3 separate regions of the Homo sapiens genome follow, and regions 2 and 3 are each linked to region 1. Evidence: promoter capture Hi-C in 16 types of primary human blood cells and fetal thymus (Javierre and others, 2016). All regions are on one chromosome and are shown on one strand. The core of a region is centred on a gene start or on the middle of the fragment in contact, and the rest is flanking DNA. Distances in the headings are between cores, read along the strand shown. Region 1 holds the start of COIL (coilin). Region 2 holds the start of SUPT4H1 (SPT4 homolog, DSIF elongation factor subunit). Region 3 holds the start of SEPTIN4-AS1 (SEPTIN4 antisense RNA 1).

Evidence for each region. Contacts are between HindIII fragments. The CHiCAGO score rates a contact against its expected background, and 5 or more counts as called.
Region 2: a contact is called between the fragment with the promoter of SUPT4H1 here and the fragment with the promoter of COIL in region 1, in 2 of 17 cell types (neutrophils and total CD8 T cells). The highest score is 7.0, in neutrophils.
Region 3: the fragment with the promoter of SEPTIN4-AS1 here is called in contact with the fragment with the promoter of COIL in region 1 in 1 of 17 cell types (neutrophils); the score reaches 7.2 in neutrophils.

Annotation. Positions count from the first base shown.
Region 1 is chr17:56,959,624-56,962,323 of GRCh38, reverse strand. It overlaps COIL (coilin), which reads left to right and starts at 1,274. Exons shown (of 7, transcript NM_004645.3): 1 at 1,274-1,549. The coding sequence starts at 1,305. LOC105371836 (a long non-coding RNA gene) reads right to left here and starts at 1,176. Exons shown (of 4, transcript XR_934875.4): 1 at 912-1,176. RefSeq lists enhancers at 1,193-1,242, 1,253-1,392, 1,142-1,436 and a silencer at 1,563-1,672. The HindIII fragment of the contact is 13,699 bases long and covers 1-2,700 here.
Region 2 is chr17:58,350,851-58,353,550 of GRCh38, reverse strand. SUPT4H1 (SPT4 homolog, DSIF elongation factor subunit) reads left to right here and starts at 1,350. Exons shown (of 5, transcript NM_003168.3): 1 at 1,350-1,484; 2 at 2,043-2,149. The coding sequence starts at 1,416. It overlaps TSPOAP1-AS1 (TSPOAP1, SUPT4H1 and RNF43 antisense RNA 1), which reads right to left. Exons shown (of 5, transcript NR_038410.1): 4 at 1,637-1,807; 5 at 1-1,552. It also overlaps a transcript of RNF43 not described here. RefSeq lists an enhancer at 34-569 and silencers at 957-1,386, 1,667-1,776. The HindIII fragment of the contact is 2,691 bases long and covers 1-1,893 here.
Region 3 is chr17:58,518,477-58,521,176 of GRCh38, reverse strand. It overlaps SEPTIN4-AS1 (SEPTIN4 antisense RNA 1), which reads right to left and starts at 1,340. Exons shown (of 5, transcript NR_110810.1): 1 at 1,200-1,340. It overlaps SEPTIN4 (septin 4), which reads left to right. Exons shown (of 14, transcript NM_001368771.2): 12 at 17-179; 13 at 335-434; 14 at 692-921. The coding sequence ends at 751. It also overlaps a transcript of MTMR4 not described here. RefSeq lists enhancers at 2,589-2,688, 2,036-2,700. The HindIII fragment of the contact is 4,387 bases long and covers 413-2,700 here.

The sequences.
Region 1 (2,700 bases), core at 25-2,524:
TTCGAGACCAGCCTGGCCACCATGGAAAAACCCTATCTCTACAAAAAATACAAAAATTAGCTGGGCTTGGTGGCTCACACCTGTGGTTCCAGCTACTAGGAAGGCTGAGGTGGGAAGTCACTTGAACCCGGGAGGCAGAGTGCACCACGGCACTCCAGCCTAGGTGACAGAGCAAGACTCTAAAAAAAGAAAATCCAAAAACCCTTACTTTCAGTTAAAAAATTTTGTTTTCAATTCATCTACTGACTCCCTGGTATCTACAACTTAACTAGTCTAGTGAACTTGGGGAAGTTACTCCTTTTTTTTTTTTTAAGACAGAATCTTGCTCTATTGCCCAGGCTGGAGTGCAGTGGCACGATCCTGACTCACTGCAACCTCCACCTCTTGGGTTCAAGCGATTCTACTGCTTCAGTCTCCCGAGTAGCTGGAATTATAGGCACATGCCACCACACCCGGCTAATCTTTATATTTTTAGTAGAGTTGGGGTTTCACCATTTTGGCCAGGGTGGTCTCAGACTCCTGGTCTCAAGTGATCCGCCCACCTTGGCCTCTCAAAGTGCTGGGATTACAGGCGTCAGCCACTGCTCCTGGCCTCTAGTTACTTCTTAAACTCTCTGAACCTTGTTTTTTTTAAATCCTCTAAATAAGGATAACAGTTCATAATTCCTAACTTTTGTTATGAAAATTAAAGGAGTTAATATATATTATGTGGAGAAATGTAAATTCTAGTTCAAAAAATAGAAGAAATAATGTAAATACTGATTTATTTATCTGGTGAGAAATGCAAGGACATTTTTGTTTGGTGGTGGGTATTAAAAGGCTAAGGTATTTATATTCCACTGGATACATTTGGAAGAATGATTAACAGTGTTATTTCAAAATTTCAACATTGAGAACACACTAGGACTTACATCTTTTTCAACTCATCATGATGAAAAATTTTGTCAGCGAAATGTGTTAGGATTGTTTTATAAAAATCTTTCACGTCGATGAGCAAATATCTTAGAAGACTACTGCTGAGGAGAAATGTTATTTATCCAGAGAGTTGCCTTAATTAGGAGACCCTACATAGCGCCCAGTAGAAATGTAATAAAGGCATTTCACTTATTCCCTTCCTCAGCCCTGCCGTGAACAAAATTGAATGAAATCAACCACGCTCCGAGTTCTCGCCTAGACGCAGCCTGTAGTAGCCAGGTTTCACCACTAGGTGGCACACGCCAAAGGCTCCGGCGGGGGCGAGCCGCCCGAGCACGCCTCTCGGTGGCCCCGTGGTATCTCTCGGCTTCCGTTGAGCACCAAGCAAGATGGCAGCTTCCGAGACGGTTAGGCTACGGCTTCAATTTGATTACCCGCCGCCAGCTACCCCGCACTGTACGGCCTTCTGGCTTCTGGTCGACTTGAACAGATGCCGAGTCGTCACAGATCTCATTAGTCTCATCCGCCAGCGCTTCGGCTTCAGTTCTGGGGCCTTCCTAGGCCTCTACCTGGAGGGGGGGCTCTTGCCCCCCGCCGAGAGCGCGCGCCTTGTGAGAGACAACGACTGCCTCAGGTGCGCGGCGCAGGGAGCGGGACGGCCGGGTGGGCGGCGGGCGGGGGACGCGCCTGCGCACGCCCGGGCCTGAAGCCGCTAGACCTGGTAGTGGAGGGGATGGGGGATGGGGAAGGGGACGAGGGTTGGAGGGGGGTGGGGCTGTAAAAATGCACGTTCGCGAACCCCGGAGATCCTGATTGGTGTAGTCAACTTTGGGGCTCAGGAATCTGCATTTTATTATTATTTTTTATTATTATTTTTTTTTTTTTGAGACGGAGTCCTGCTTTGTCACCCAGGCTGGAGTACAGTGGCGCGATCTCGGTTCACTGCAACCTCCACCTCCCGGGTTCAAGCAATTTTCCTGCCTCAGCCTCCCGAGTAGCTGGGACTACAGGCGTCCGCCACCACGCCCGGCTAATTTTTGTATTTTTAGTAGAGATGGGGTTTCACCATATTGGTCAAGGTGGTCTCGAACTCCTGACCTCAGTTGATCCGCTTGCATCGGCCTCTCAAAGTGCTGGGATTGCAGGCGTGCACCACCGCATCCTGCCCCTATTATTTTTATTTTTGAGACTGAGTCTCATTCTGTCACCCAGGCTGGAGTGCAGTGGCGCGATCTCAGCTCACTGCAGCCTCCACCTCCCGGGTTCAATCGATCCTCCCACCTCAGCCTCCCGAGTAGCTGGGCTTACAGGCGGGCGCCACCATGCCCGGCTAATTTTTTGTTTGTTTGTTTGTATTTTTAGTAGAGACGGGGTTTCACCGTGTTGGCCAGGCTGGTCTTGAACTCCTGACGTTAAGTGATCCTCCCGGCTTCCCAAAGTGCTGGGATTACAGGCGTGAGCCTCCGCGCCTGGCTGGAATCTGCAGTGTAACGAGCATCCTTCCCGGGATGCTTCTGATGACAGGAGAATCAAACTTGGAAAATCCCTGATGCCTAAGGGCAGGGCCAGGCTTTCTTTCAGCCTTGATTTAGCACATCCGCGCTTAGCTAGGCACTGTGCGACTCTGTTGCGTGCCCATGGTGCAGATGTGCCGGAGACCCGGCCTTACCCATGGCGGCCTTCAGGGTCAGGTGCAGGAAGCTGACAAAGGGGAATCGTTGTGTTTTCTTCATAACCTGCTGTTGTCCAGCCTTAGTTCTCATGTGCCCAGTGTCCCCTGAGACT
Region 2 (2,700 bases), core at 101-2,600, 1.4 Mb before region 1:
ATAGGGTAGAGTAGAGGGCTTGGCAATAAGAACTGGTTTGTAAGCCCCTAAAAGTGTGGCTTAGTGAGATCAGGGAAGGAGAAAGCATGACTGGATTCTTACTGTGCTTCAGTCATTATTATTATACTGTTCACTTCACACATTATCATACTTCAGTGACTCAGACCTTGGGCAAATACTCTGTGCCTCGCTTTTTCAGTCCATAAAATGGGCCTACTTAATAGTTGTTGCAGGACTTACATGAGATAATAGAGTGTAGAAAATATGTTCCAAAGTGGAAAGTTTTATTCAGTGATAGAAAACATCCAAACCTGTCACAGAGCCCATCTGAACACAGCATGGGACCGCCAACAAGAAGAAAGCCCGCCCGGAAGCAGCTCAATCAGGAGGCTGGGCTGGAATGACAGCGCAGCGGGGCCTGAAACTATTTATATCCCAAAGCTCCTCTCAGATAAACACAAATGACTGCGTTCTGCCTGCACTCGGGCTATTGCGAGGACAGAGAGCTGGTGCTCCATTGGCGTGAAGTCTCCAGGGCCAGAAGGGGCCTTTGTCGCTTCCTCACAAGGCACAAGTTCCCCTTCTGCTTCCCCGAGAAAGGTTTGGTAGGGGTGGTGGTTTAGTGCCTATAGAACAAGGCATTTCGCTTCCTAGACGGTGAAATGAAAGGGAAAAAAAGGACACCTAATCTCCTACAAATGGTCTTTAGTAAAGGAACCGTGTCTAAGCGCTAAGAACTGCGCAAAGTATAAATTATCAGCCGGAACGAGCAAACAGACGGAGTTTTAAAAGATAAATACGCATTTTTTTCCGCCGTAGCTCCCAGGCCAGCATTCCTGTGGGAAGCAAGTGGAAACCCTATAGCGCTCTCGCAGTTAGGAAGGAGGGGTGGGGCTGTCCCTGGATTTCTTCTCGGTCTCTGCAGAGACAATCCAGAGGGAGACAGTGGATTCACTGCCCCCAATGCTTCTAAAACGGGGAGACAAAACAAAAAAAAACAAACTTCGGGTTACCATCGGGGAACAGGACCGACGCCCAGGGCCACCAGCCCAGATCAAACAGCCCGCGTCTCGGCGCTGCGGCTCAGCCCGACACACTCCCGCGCAAGCGCAGCCGCCCCCCCGCCCCGGGGGCCCGCTGACTACCCCACACAGCCTCCGCCGCGCCCTCGGCGGGCTCAGGTGGCTGCGACGCGCTCCGGCCCAGGTGGCGGCCGGCCGCCCAGCCTCCCCGCCTGCTGGCGGGAGAAACCATCTCCTCTGGCGGGGGTAGGGGCGGAGCTGGCGTCCGCCCACACCGGAAGAGGAAGTCTAAGCGCCGGAAGTGGTGGGCATTCTGGGTAACGAGCTATTTACTTCCTGCGGGTGCACAGGCTGTGGTCGTCTATCTCCCTGTTGTTCTTCCCATCGGCGAAGATGGCCCTGGAGACGGTGCCGAAGGACCTGCGGCATCTGCGGGCCTGTTTGCTGTGTTCGCTGGTCAAGGTGTCAGTCGGGGACCTGGTTGTAGGGCCCATGGGGGACCAAGGTCGGGGAAAGAGGGCGGAATGGGGCTGTGGGACAGTAAAGAGAAAAGTTAAGTCTCAGAACTCAGAGGTGGCAGGGGGAGTGAGAAGCCGAAGGAGGCCATCGTTTACCTCGTAGGATCGCGGACAGGTCTTGCAGCTGAGGGCAGGGGCGGTCTTACATGCCTTTGAATCCTCAGCTCTTAGACGTTCGGTGAACTTACGTTGGAGCCGAAAGACACTGGGAGTCAGAGGCGGGTGGGGATCCGCTGCTGAGTGAGTAGTCGGAAAGGATGCCTGACCCTGAGTAGACTAGAGAAAGGAATAGATAAAACGGAATTGGGAACGAGAGAGGAAGGAGTGGGAGGGTGGGACTTAGGAATGAAGCTTTGAGAGTAGTAGGTGGGGAACCTTAGGATACACAGTCAACATAGGGAAACAAGAAATTGAGCAGGTCGAAGTATTGAGAAAGCTACTTTTTCTCTTGGTCTTGTTCATGCTTATCTCTCCTTTTCCTTTATTTTTCTTTCACTCCCAGACTATAGACCAGTTTGAATATGATGGTTGTGACAATTGTGATGCATATCTACAAATGAAGGGTAACCGAGAGATGGTATATGACTGCACTAGCTCTTCCTTTGATGGGTAAGCCGCTTCAGTTTCCATCATTCACTTCTGCATTACCCAACCTGCACCCAGAGAAGTAAATGCAGGGCAAGTGTTAATCCTAGTTGGGCCCAGCCATTCGTTTTTGGGGGTTATTTTGTGTGGGTTTTTTTTTTTTTTTTTTTTTTTGAATCAGGGTTTTGCTCTGTGGCTCAGGCTGGAGTGCAGTGGCATGATCATAGCTCACTGCAGCGTGGAATGATCCTCTGACTTCAACCTCCCAGAGTGCTGGGATTATAGGTGTAAGCCACTGTGTCCAGCCTCAACAGTTATTTTGGGACATACTAGTGCTATGCATCTAATACAGTGACCACTATCCACGTGTAGCTACTGAGCACTTGAAATGTGTCTAGTCCAAATTAAGACATGCTTTTAAGTATAAAATATACCCCAGATTTCAAAGACTTAACATGAGAAGAAAGAATGTAATCTTAATAATGTTTGTTAAATGCATGAAAATTTTTTTTGAAAATGAAGGGAAGGGAGGTGTAGTAATGGTAGATCATTGCCCAAAAGCTGTTGCTTTTTTT
Region 3 (2,700 bases), core at 91-2,590, 1.6 Mb before region 1:
TAGCCTTGCTATGCAGTGGAAAACCCAGGGCACTGCGACTTTGTGAAGCTGAGGACAATGCTGGTACGTACCCACATGCAGGACCTGAAGGATGTGACACGGGAGACACATTATGAGAACTACCGGGCACAGTGCATCCAGAGCATGACCCGCCTGGTGGTGAAGGAACGGAATCGCAAGTATGACCAGAAGCCAGGACAAAGCTGGCAGGGGGAGATCCCAAGCCTAGCCTTGGGTGAGACCAAGCCCTACTTTTGTTCTTCTATAGGCCCTGGGCTCAATCTAAGCGGGTGCTGGGGTCCTCCTCGCCTTATCAACCCTTTTCTCCCTTTAGCAAACTGACTCGGGAAAGTGGTACCGACTTCCCCATCCCTGCTGTCCCACCAGGGACAGATCCAGAAACTGAGAAGCTTATCCGAGAGAAAGATGAGGAGGTGAGAGCAGTATGGGGTATAGGGGAGGTCTCCTGTTTGATCACCAACGTTGGTATCTCTTTGTTTGGTAATAGAAAGATCCCTGGCTCTGGTGCATATTTGGGTCCTGGATAGGTCAATAGGTGGTTCTGTCCAGAGTCTCCATCACACCTCACGGCTACCAAGGTTCTGGCTTAAGGGATTAGAAATTTGGGGCACTTTCCCAATACTAAAGGACTCTCCAAAAGTCCCCATTTTGATGCCTGTGCCTATTCCAGCTGCGGCGGATGCAGGAGATGCTACACAAAATACAAAAACAGATGAAGGAGAACTATTAACTGGCTTTCAGCCCTGGATATTTAAATCTCCTCCTCTTCTTCCTGTCCATGCCGGCCCCTCCCAGCACCAGCTCTGCTCAGGCCCCTTCAGCTACTGCCACTTCGCCTTACATCCCTGCTGACTGCCCAGAGACTCAGAGGAAATAAAGTTTAATAAATCTGTAGGTGGCTTCTGGTGTCCCTGTGTGTATTTTTATGACCTGGAGATCAAGATCCTGGGACCCAGTTTTGAAAGGCTAATGGTAGAAGATGTTGGTTTCTGGCTTTTAGTAGGGAAGGGAGAGTGGGGAAAACTTTCCACTTCCTTTCCCCTTCTAAGTCCCTGCTTAGAATCCAGCCTGGCTTCTCCATCTTGACGATCATATCTATCATGCCTCTGTTATCTGGGGTCTGGGTCTCTCTCCATCTTTCACACATACAGTACCTTTGGTAATAAAAAGATTCCTACCTGTGGTGCATATTTGGGTCCTGGATAGGTCAACAGGTGGTTCTGTCCAGAGTCTCCCATCACACCTCAGGGCTACCAAGGTCCTGGCTTAAGGGATTAGAAATTTGGGGCACTTCTCCTGGCTAAGGAGAAAGTGAAACCCTGTCTCTACTAAAAATACAAAATAGCCGGGCGTGGTGGCGGGCGCCTGTAGTCCCAGCTACTCGGGAGGCTGAGGCAGGAGAATGGCTGAACCCGGGAGGCGGAGCTTGAAGTGAGCTGAGATGGCGCCACTGCACTCCAGCCTGGGTGACAGGGCGAGACTCCGTCTCAAAAAAAAAAAAGAAAAATAAAAAGAAAAAGAAATTTGGGGCACTTCCCCAATATTAAAGGACTGTCCAAAAGTCCCCCCTGCCCTTTTTTTTTTTGAGGCGGAGTCTCGCTCTGTCGCCCAGGCTGGAGTGCAACGGCGCTATCTCGGCTCACTGCAAGCTCCGTAGCTGGGACTACAAGACTCCGTAGCTGGGACTACAGGCGCCCGCCACCACGCCCGACTAATTTTTTGTATTTTTAGTAGAGACGGGGTTTCACCGTGTTAGCCAGGATGACCTCGATCTCCTGACCTTGAGATCCGCCCGCCTCGGCCCCCCAAGGTGCTGGGATTACAGGCATGAGCCACCGCGCCCGGCCCAAAAGGCCCCATTTTGATGCCTGTGCGTATTCCAGCTGCGGCGGACGCAGTTTTGTATTTGATACCTGCCCTTGGGAAAACACAAGGTATTAACTGCGTGCAACCTCCTGACTTTCTGTTTCCCCTGATCTGGGAAAAGGGATAGGCAGGTTAAGCTCTACACTGTAGAAAGCCTGTGATAGAGCTTTGAACAAATGCTGCAGCCATTGTAATCACCAAACACTATAGTAAGTGCTGGGAATGAATAAAAACACAATCACCGTCCTACAGGAGTTCAGTATTTAATTAAAAAATTTACAGCATCTGCTAGATTGCAGGCTGTTCTAGACCCTGGAGTTCAAGTAGTGCAAAGTTCCTGTCTTCCTGGAACTTACCAACAGTACTGGAGTTTCAACGTTCTATAAACAAAGATGGGTGAGGACATTAGCCCCGGGCTAATTAAAGCGCTCAGGCCCGCTCCAGACCTGAGAATATCAGCTGAATCTGAATCAACTGTTCTCCATTTCTGTCGGTTGGTGGTATCGCGGGGCCACGGCGACCTCCAGCGGCCACCCTCCGTCTTGTGGTCTGTTCTGGGTCCCCGGGAAGGAAAGGGAGGGGCGATAAGCCGGGTCCTTGGGAGCGTCCTGGTCTCCCTTCGCTTTACAGACTAGGAGGCCGCAGCTAGCTGGCAGTCTCAGATCCAGGTTTCCCATCTCTGGGATGAGAGGAGAGTTCTTCACTCAGGACTGCCAGCGCAATGCAGGTCGTGAAGAACTGCAGGGTCGTTTATCGATACAAAGTGAGTGTTGGAGGAACCCATCAAGACACAGGAAGGGGGAAATCCTAGCG